Regions from separate parts of the Homo sapiens genome. Here region 2 is linked to region 1. The links are contacts of gene promoters, found by promoter capture Hi-C in blood cells and fetal thymus (Javierre and others, 2016). All regions are on one chromosome and are shown on one strand. The core of a region is centred on a gene start or on the middle of the fragment in contact, and the rest is flanking DNA. Distances in the headings are between cores, read along the strand shown. Region 1 holds the start of ZNF684 (zinc finger protein 684). Region 2 has its middle 28 kb from the start of MFSD2A.

Region 1 (3,286 bases), core at 26-2,525:
GTTTCTGTCCTACTGATCTAGCACCAAGTGGTTCCTCTTGAAACAGTTATTTTTTTTCCTCCCAGAAATTTATCCTGAAGAAATAATGAATGAGTTGACTCACTTAAAAGCTTGGTCTCTGAAGCTCCGTAAGTCTAAAAATGATTCCTTCCTGTGATTCTCTGGTTTCTACTCTGACGCTGGGATAAGAGATTGCAAATTAGGTTGGGCTTTCTTGAGAAGGCTGGATTCAGGGACCCAGGAACACTTTTTTTTATTTTTTTTTTGTTAAGCTGGATCCTTCAGTTTAAACTCCAAATGTTTCTCTCTGTAGAAACTCGCCATCTCCTATGAGCTTAGAACTGCTGGGGCTCTAGAAAGGGTATAATGGGCAAACCGGGGACTCACATCTTCATTTACACAGTCTGCACTGGAAGATCTGCAGATACACCAAGAGACTCTACAAAATGACTACAAATCGAAATTTACTCAGCATTCATTGCTCAAACATTTCAGGAGAATAAACCCAACTCTGTTTTATGCAGGAATGCTATACTGTAAAAAAAAAAAAAAAGAAATTTGGAGAAAATGTATCTGAGTTTGAATCTCAGTTCTTCCACTTACTAAGCTGTGTGAGTCCAGGCAAGTAATTTCACCTTTCAGCTTCAGTTAACTCATATGCAAAATGGTAATAGCATTTACTTCAAATGATTGCTGAGAATACCCTTCTAATCCATAGCAGTTTCTCAAGAATGCTTTCTTCCTGGATCCCTTGAAATAGCTTACAGTTTCCACTGGATCCCTTGACACGGCTTAAAATTGTCGCAGGCTCCAGTCGGGCCAACTATGCTCTTGGAACCAGGAAAGGTACAGTTAGATGAACAGACTCCTACATAGTGACCTTGACCTACAAGAGCAGGAATGCAAATTGAGCCTCTCCCAGTCCCACCAGAGCCCTGGACATCTACCCAGTGCCAGTCGGAGCCCAACTCTTGCTTTCTCTCAGCTACTCGAGTTGAACAGGACCCACATATCCAAACCTGAAGTCACTGCGCTTGGAGACTAAAGTTTTATCTTCGGTAGGGTAAACCTAGAAGCCAGTCCCCGCCTTTCTCTTACGTCCTCCGAGTCCAGCAAAGCCATACCTGCCACCCTTTCACTGCCTCGCTCGCAGCTCCGGCTCCAAGCCTGGGATCAGTCACAGCGTCGTCCAGAGACAGGGGAGCAACACCCGCCCGCACTTCCCGCGGCGCTGATTTGAAGATTGAATACCGGCTACCGTCCTACTACGCGTGTGCGGAAGTAACTGTCCACCTAGAGTTCCTGGACTCCTCCCGGGTGTAGGCCATCCGTCGGAGACCACATTTCCCATAAGGCCAGTGGAGCTCGTTTCCGGAAGACGTCAGACGCTGCTTCCTCTTGGGGGGTGGTGCGGAGATTCCCGGGTTGGTATCTCTATTGCTAGCCTGAGAGCCACGCTTTTTAAGTCGTTTTCATTTAAAAGGATACACAGCATTTTTAAATACTGGAAAGTAAAATCGGCGGTATGCTAAAAACAATTTGCTCTTACTCAGCAGGGTTTCTTCTAGCAATGCACCAGGTTAAGTCGGAGAGGTGAAGAGGATCCAACAAAGAAGACTGAGAAGGAATAATCCATGAAGTAGATGGAAAAGTAGGAGAGTTTAGATCTGCAAAACCAAGGGAAGGAAGTGTTTCAAGAAGGGAGTGACCCATTGTCTCAAATGTTGCTCATAGGTCAAGTAAAATGAGAATTAAGAATGGGCCACTGTAGCAATGGTCACCAGTGATGTTGAAACGCCATTTTGGCAGTGGTGGAAGTTTGATAAAGTCTGATGAAAATTTGATAGGAGTTGGAGGGAAGGATGGGAGGAGAGGAAATGGAGAAAGCAAATATACGCAATACTTTTAAGAAGTTTTGTTTTTAAGGTGAGCAGAAAAATAAGGCTATCATGGGATAGGGATTTTGTTAATCTTTTGTTGTTGCGTTTTTCCACGTTCTAATTTTTTTTTTTTTTTTAATTCAAAGATGGGGCTGAGTGTGGTGGCTTATGCCTGTAATCCTAACATTTCAGGAGGCCAAAGTGGGAGGATTGGTTGAGCCCAGGAGTCTGAAACTGCCTAGGCAACATAGTGAGACCCTCATCTCTACAAAAAATAAAAAACTAGCCTGGCATGGCACCCGCCTGAAGTCCCAACTACTTGAGAGGCTGAGATGGGAGGATCGCTTGAGCCCAGACAGTAGAGACTGCAGTGAGCCGTGATCCCGCCACTGCACTGCAGCATGGGCGACAGAGCTAGTCTCTGTCTCAAAAAAATAAAATAAAAAAGATGGAAGAAATTATAGTAAGTTTATGTACTAATTAAAAGGATCTAGGCTGGGCGCAGTGGCTCACGCCTGTAATCCCAGCACTTTGGGAAGCTTAGGTGGGCAGATCACCTGAGGTCAGGAGTTGGAGACCAGCCTGGCCAACGTGGTGAAACCCCGTCTCTACTAAAAATACAAAAATTAGCCGGGCGTGGTGGCAGACGCCTGTAAACCCAGCTACCTGGGAGGCTGAGGCGGGAGAATCACTTGAACCCGGGAGGCAGAGGTTGCAGTGAGCCGAGATCACACCACTGCACTCCAGCCTGGGCGACAGAGCGAGGCTCTGTCTCAAATAAATGAATTAGTTAATAAAATAAAACAAAAGATCCAGTAGAGGCGGGAAATACACAATTCAGGATAGACAGGCTAGTTACTCGGAGGAATGTCCTTGAGAAGAGAAGGGATGGAATCCAGTACACAATCACAGGGATCATTCTAAGTAAGAGTATGGATAATTCATCTCCATTGAAATAAAAGGGGAGGCAGAGTTTATAAGTACAGATCCAAACAGGTGGACAAATATGGTGGTAGGAGAAAGAGGATGCCCTGTTCTGAGTGCTTCTATTTTCCCAGTGAAATAGGAAGCTGAAATGAAGATAGGGGGAAAGTATTTTAGACTTGACAGAAAAGATGAATACCGTATTATGATGATTTTGAAACATGATTTTTTCATATTTTAACATCTGTGAAATTGCTGTCTTACAAGTGATGGCATTCCATAGTTTAATCAGGAGCATTGTTTTTTATTAGTATATAAAATAATAATACAACTTATAATCAATGGCATCTGAGATTCGATAAAGTATGATTTATGAATGTGAGCAAGTGAATAGATTAAGGAAATGTAGTACTATTGCCTGGCACCATTAAGAACTGGCTTGATATTAGTAGCCATTATCGCTTCTCAGCCTTTTGGCTAAG
Region 2 (3,057 bases), core at 223-2,722, 550 kb after region 1:
AGATCAACATACAAATGTATTTCTTTATAATAGCAACAAAAAAATTAGAAAATGAAATTTACAAAAAATATCATTTACATCAGTATCAAAAATATCAAATACTTAGGAATAAATCTATTGAAAGATGTTTGAGATTTTAACCTGTGGCCAGGAGTGGTGGCTCATGCCTATAATCCCAGCACTTTGGGAGTCTGAGGTGGGAGAATTGCTTGAGCCCAGGAGTTGGAGACCAGCCTGGGCAACATAGCAAGACCCCACCTCTACAAAAAATGTAAAAAGAATCATAATAAATGTTCAAAGAAAAAAAAAAAGACCTCAACCTGAAACATTCTCTCTCTCTCTTTTTTTTTTTTTTTTGAGACAGAGTCTCATTCTGTTTTCAGGCTGGAGTGCAGTGGCGCGATCTCAGCTCACTGCAACCTCCGCCCTCCGAGTTCAAGCGATTCTCCTGCCTCAGCCTCCCGAGTAGCTGGGATTACAGGCGCCTGCCACTGCACCCGGCTAATTTTTTGTATTTTTAGTAGATATGGGGTTTCACCTTCTTGGCCAGGCTGGTCTCGAACTCCTGACCTTGTGATCCACCCGCCTTGGCCTCCCAAAGTGCTGGGATTACAGGTGTGAGCCACCGCGTCCGGCCCTCTCTCTTTTTTAAGAGACAGTGTCTCACTATTTTGGCCAGGCTGGTCTCAAACTCCCTGGCTCAGGTGATCTTCCTGCCTCAGCCTCCCAAGTAGCTGGGACTACGGGCATGCACCACCATGCCTGTTTCTATAAGACATTCTTGACATAAATTAAACACGACCTAAATAAATGGACAGATATTTCATGTTCATAAATTAGAAGACTCAATATTGTTAAGATGCCAGTTTTTTCCAATTAGTTCATAGATTCAGTGTAATTCCATCAAACTCCCAGCACATTCTGTGTGTGTATGTGTGTGTGTGTGTGTGTGCACACGCATACATTGACAAGCTGATTCCAAAATACATATGGACAATCCAAAAACCTTGAAGTTTGGCCAGGCATGGTGACTCATACCTGTAATCCCAGCACTTTGGGAGGCCAAGGCAGGCAGATCACCTGAGGTCAGGAGTTCAAGACCAACCTAGCCAATATGCTGAAACCCCCTATCTACTTAAAGTACAAAAAAATTAGCTGGGCATGATGGCGGGCATCTGTAGTCCCAACTACTTGGGAGGCTGAGGCAGGAGAATCGCTTGAACTTGGGAGGTGGAGGTTGCAATAAGCCAAGATCGCGCCATTGCACTTCAGCCTGGGAGAGAGTGAAACTCCATCTCAAAAACAAAACAAAACAAAACCTTGAAGTTGAAAGACTTACACTACCAAATTTCAACATTTACTATATAAATCTATAGTAATTAAGACAGGGGACTCTTGGAGTAAGAATAGCTGAGTAGATCACTTGAACAGGATAAAGAGTCCAGGGCCAGCCACGGTGGCTCATGCCTGTAATCCCAGCACTTTGGGACGCCGAGGCAGGTGGATCACCTGAAGTCAGGAGTTTGAGACCAGCCTGACCAATATGGTGAAACTCCGCCTCTACTAAAAATACAAAAATTAGCCGGGTGTGGTGGCGTGTGCCTGTAATCCCGGCTACTGGGGAGGCTGAGGCAGGAGAATTGCTTGAACCCGGGAGATGGAGGTTGCATTGAGCCGAGATCGCACCATTGCACTACAGCTTAGGCGACAGAGCAAGACTCTGTCTCAAAAAAAAAAAAAAAAAAAAAATAGAGTCCAAAAATGGACCTACACATATAGGTTCTTTTGATTTATGCCACTGTAATCAAGTAGGGGAGGGACGTCCTTTTAATAAAAGGTGCTGGAATAATTGGATAAGTACAGAGAAAAATAAACTCTGACCCTTAACTCACACTATACACAAAAATTAATTTGAGTGGATCATAGACCTAAATAAAAAAAGTATAAAACAACAATAAAACAACTTCTAAATAAAAACATAAGATAATTTTTTTGATATTGGGGTAAGTAAAGATTTCTTTTTTTTTTTTTTTTTTTGAGACGGAGTCTCACTCTGTTGTCAGGCTGGAGTACAGTGGTGCGATCTCCGCTCACTGCAACCTCCGCCTCCCAGGTTCAAACAATTCTCCTGCCTCAGCCTCCCGAGTTGCTGGGATTACAGGCATGCACCACCATACCCGGCTAATTTTTGTATTTTTAGTAGAGACGGGGTTTTACCATGTTAGCCAGGCTGGTCTCGAACTCCTGACCTCAGGTGATCCAGCCGCCTTGGCCTCCCCAAAGTGCTGGGATTACAGACGTGAGCCACCGCGCCCAGCCTCCTGAATGTAAATTATATCTCAATAAAACATTGAAAAGTAAGGAGTTTTTTGTTTATTTTTAATTACAAAAGCAAAATAAATGCTTGGTCTTTATAGACTACTAAAACAAGTATAACTAGAAGAATGACAGGCCTTGATCTCATTTCTAGGGACAAGATCTGTCTTCAAATTTATGCAGGTCTTCCATGGGACAAAGAGAAGGGTTGTATTGTGCAGATGCCAAAGAGAGGATCTAGAATCTGTGGGGACAAGCCACAAGGAGATAGCTTTCAAGATGAAGGAAACCTTTTTTTATGCCCTTCTCCACAAATGAAACAGGCTGCCTTGAGCCAAAATGAGCTGGCTGCCAAAGGCATGAGCAAGCAGAAGGCAGCCACAGGCATCCACGCATCAGGTGGGGTTGGATTAGACAGCCTAGGTCTCGTCCTCTGCCTCTGCTACTCCTTTAAGGAACAGCAAGGAGTAGAACAGCCCCTCCCACACTATGAGTTGTCCCTTTGTGTTAACAGAAATGGCCAAACCCATCTGCTGAAAGCCATAGATTGCTGGAGGACTAGCTCTGGAGTCTGAGCCCTGATGGCAGTGAAAAGGGAGGGAAGGACACAGGACAAAAGTCTTGGTTCTTAAGAAACGGACAGGCCAGGAGGTGGTTCACATCTGTAATCTCAGTACTTTGGGAGGCCAAGGAGGGAGGGTCACTTGAGCTCAGCAGTTAAGACCAACTTGGACAACATAG

The links. The method cuts DNA at HindIII sites, captures the fragments that hold promoters and counts their contacts. A CHiCAGO score of 5 or more calls a contact.
Region 2: a contact is called between a fragment that was not itself captured here and the fragment with the promoter of ZNF684 in region 1, in 1 of 17 cell types (neutrophils). The highest score is 5.4, in neutrophils.

Annotation. Positions count from the first base shown.
Region 1 is chr1:40,529,626-40,532,911 of GRCh38, reverse strand. It overlaps ZNF684 (zinc finger protein 684), which reads right to left and starts at 1,275. Exons shown (of 5, transcript NM_152373.4): 1 at 1,125-1,275. It overlaps LOC124904149 (a long non-coding RNA gene), which reads left to right and starts at 1,366. Exons shown (of 2, transcript XR_007066022.1): 1 at 1,366-1,424; 2 at 1,557-2,334. RefSeq lists an enhancer at 1,181-1,475. The HindIII fragment of the contact is 2,309 bases long and covers 113-2,421 here.
Region 2 is chr1:39,981,826-39,984,882 of GRCh38, reverse strand. No RefSeq gene overlaps it. Among named protein-coding and RNA genes, the nearest start is that of MFSD2A, 28 kb to the right of the region's middle. The HindIII fragment of the contact is 9,070 bases long and covers 1-3,057 here.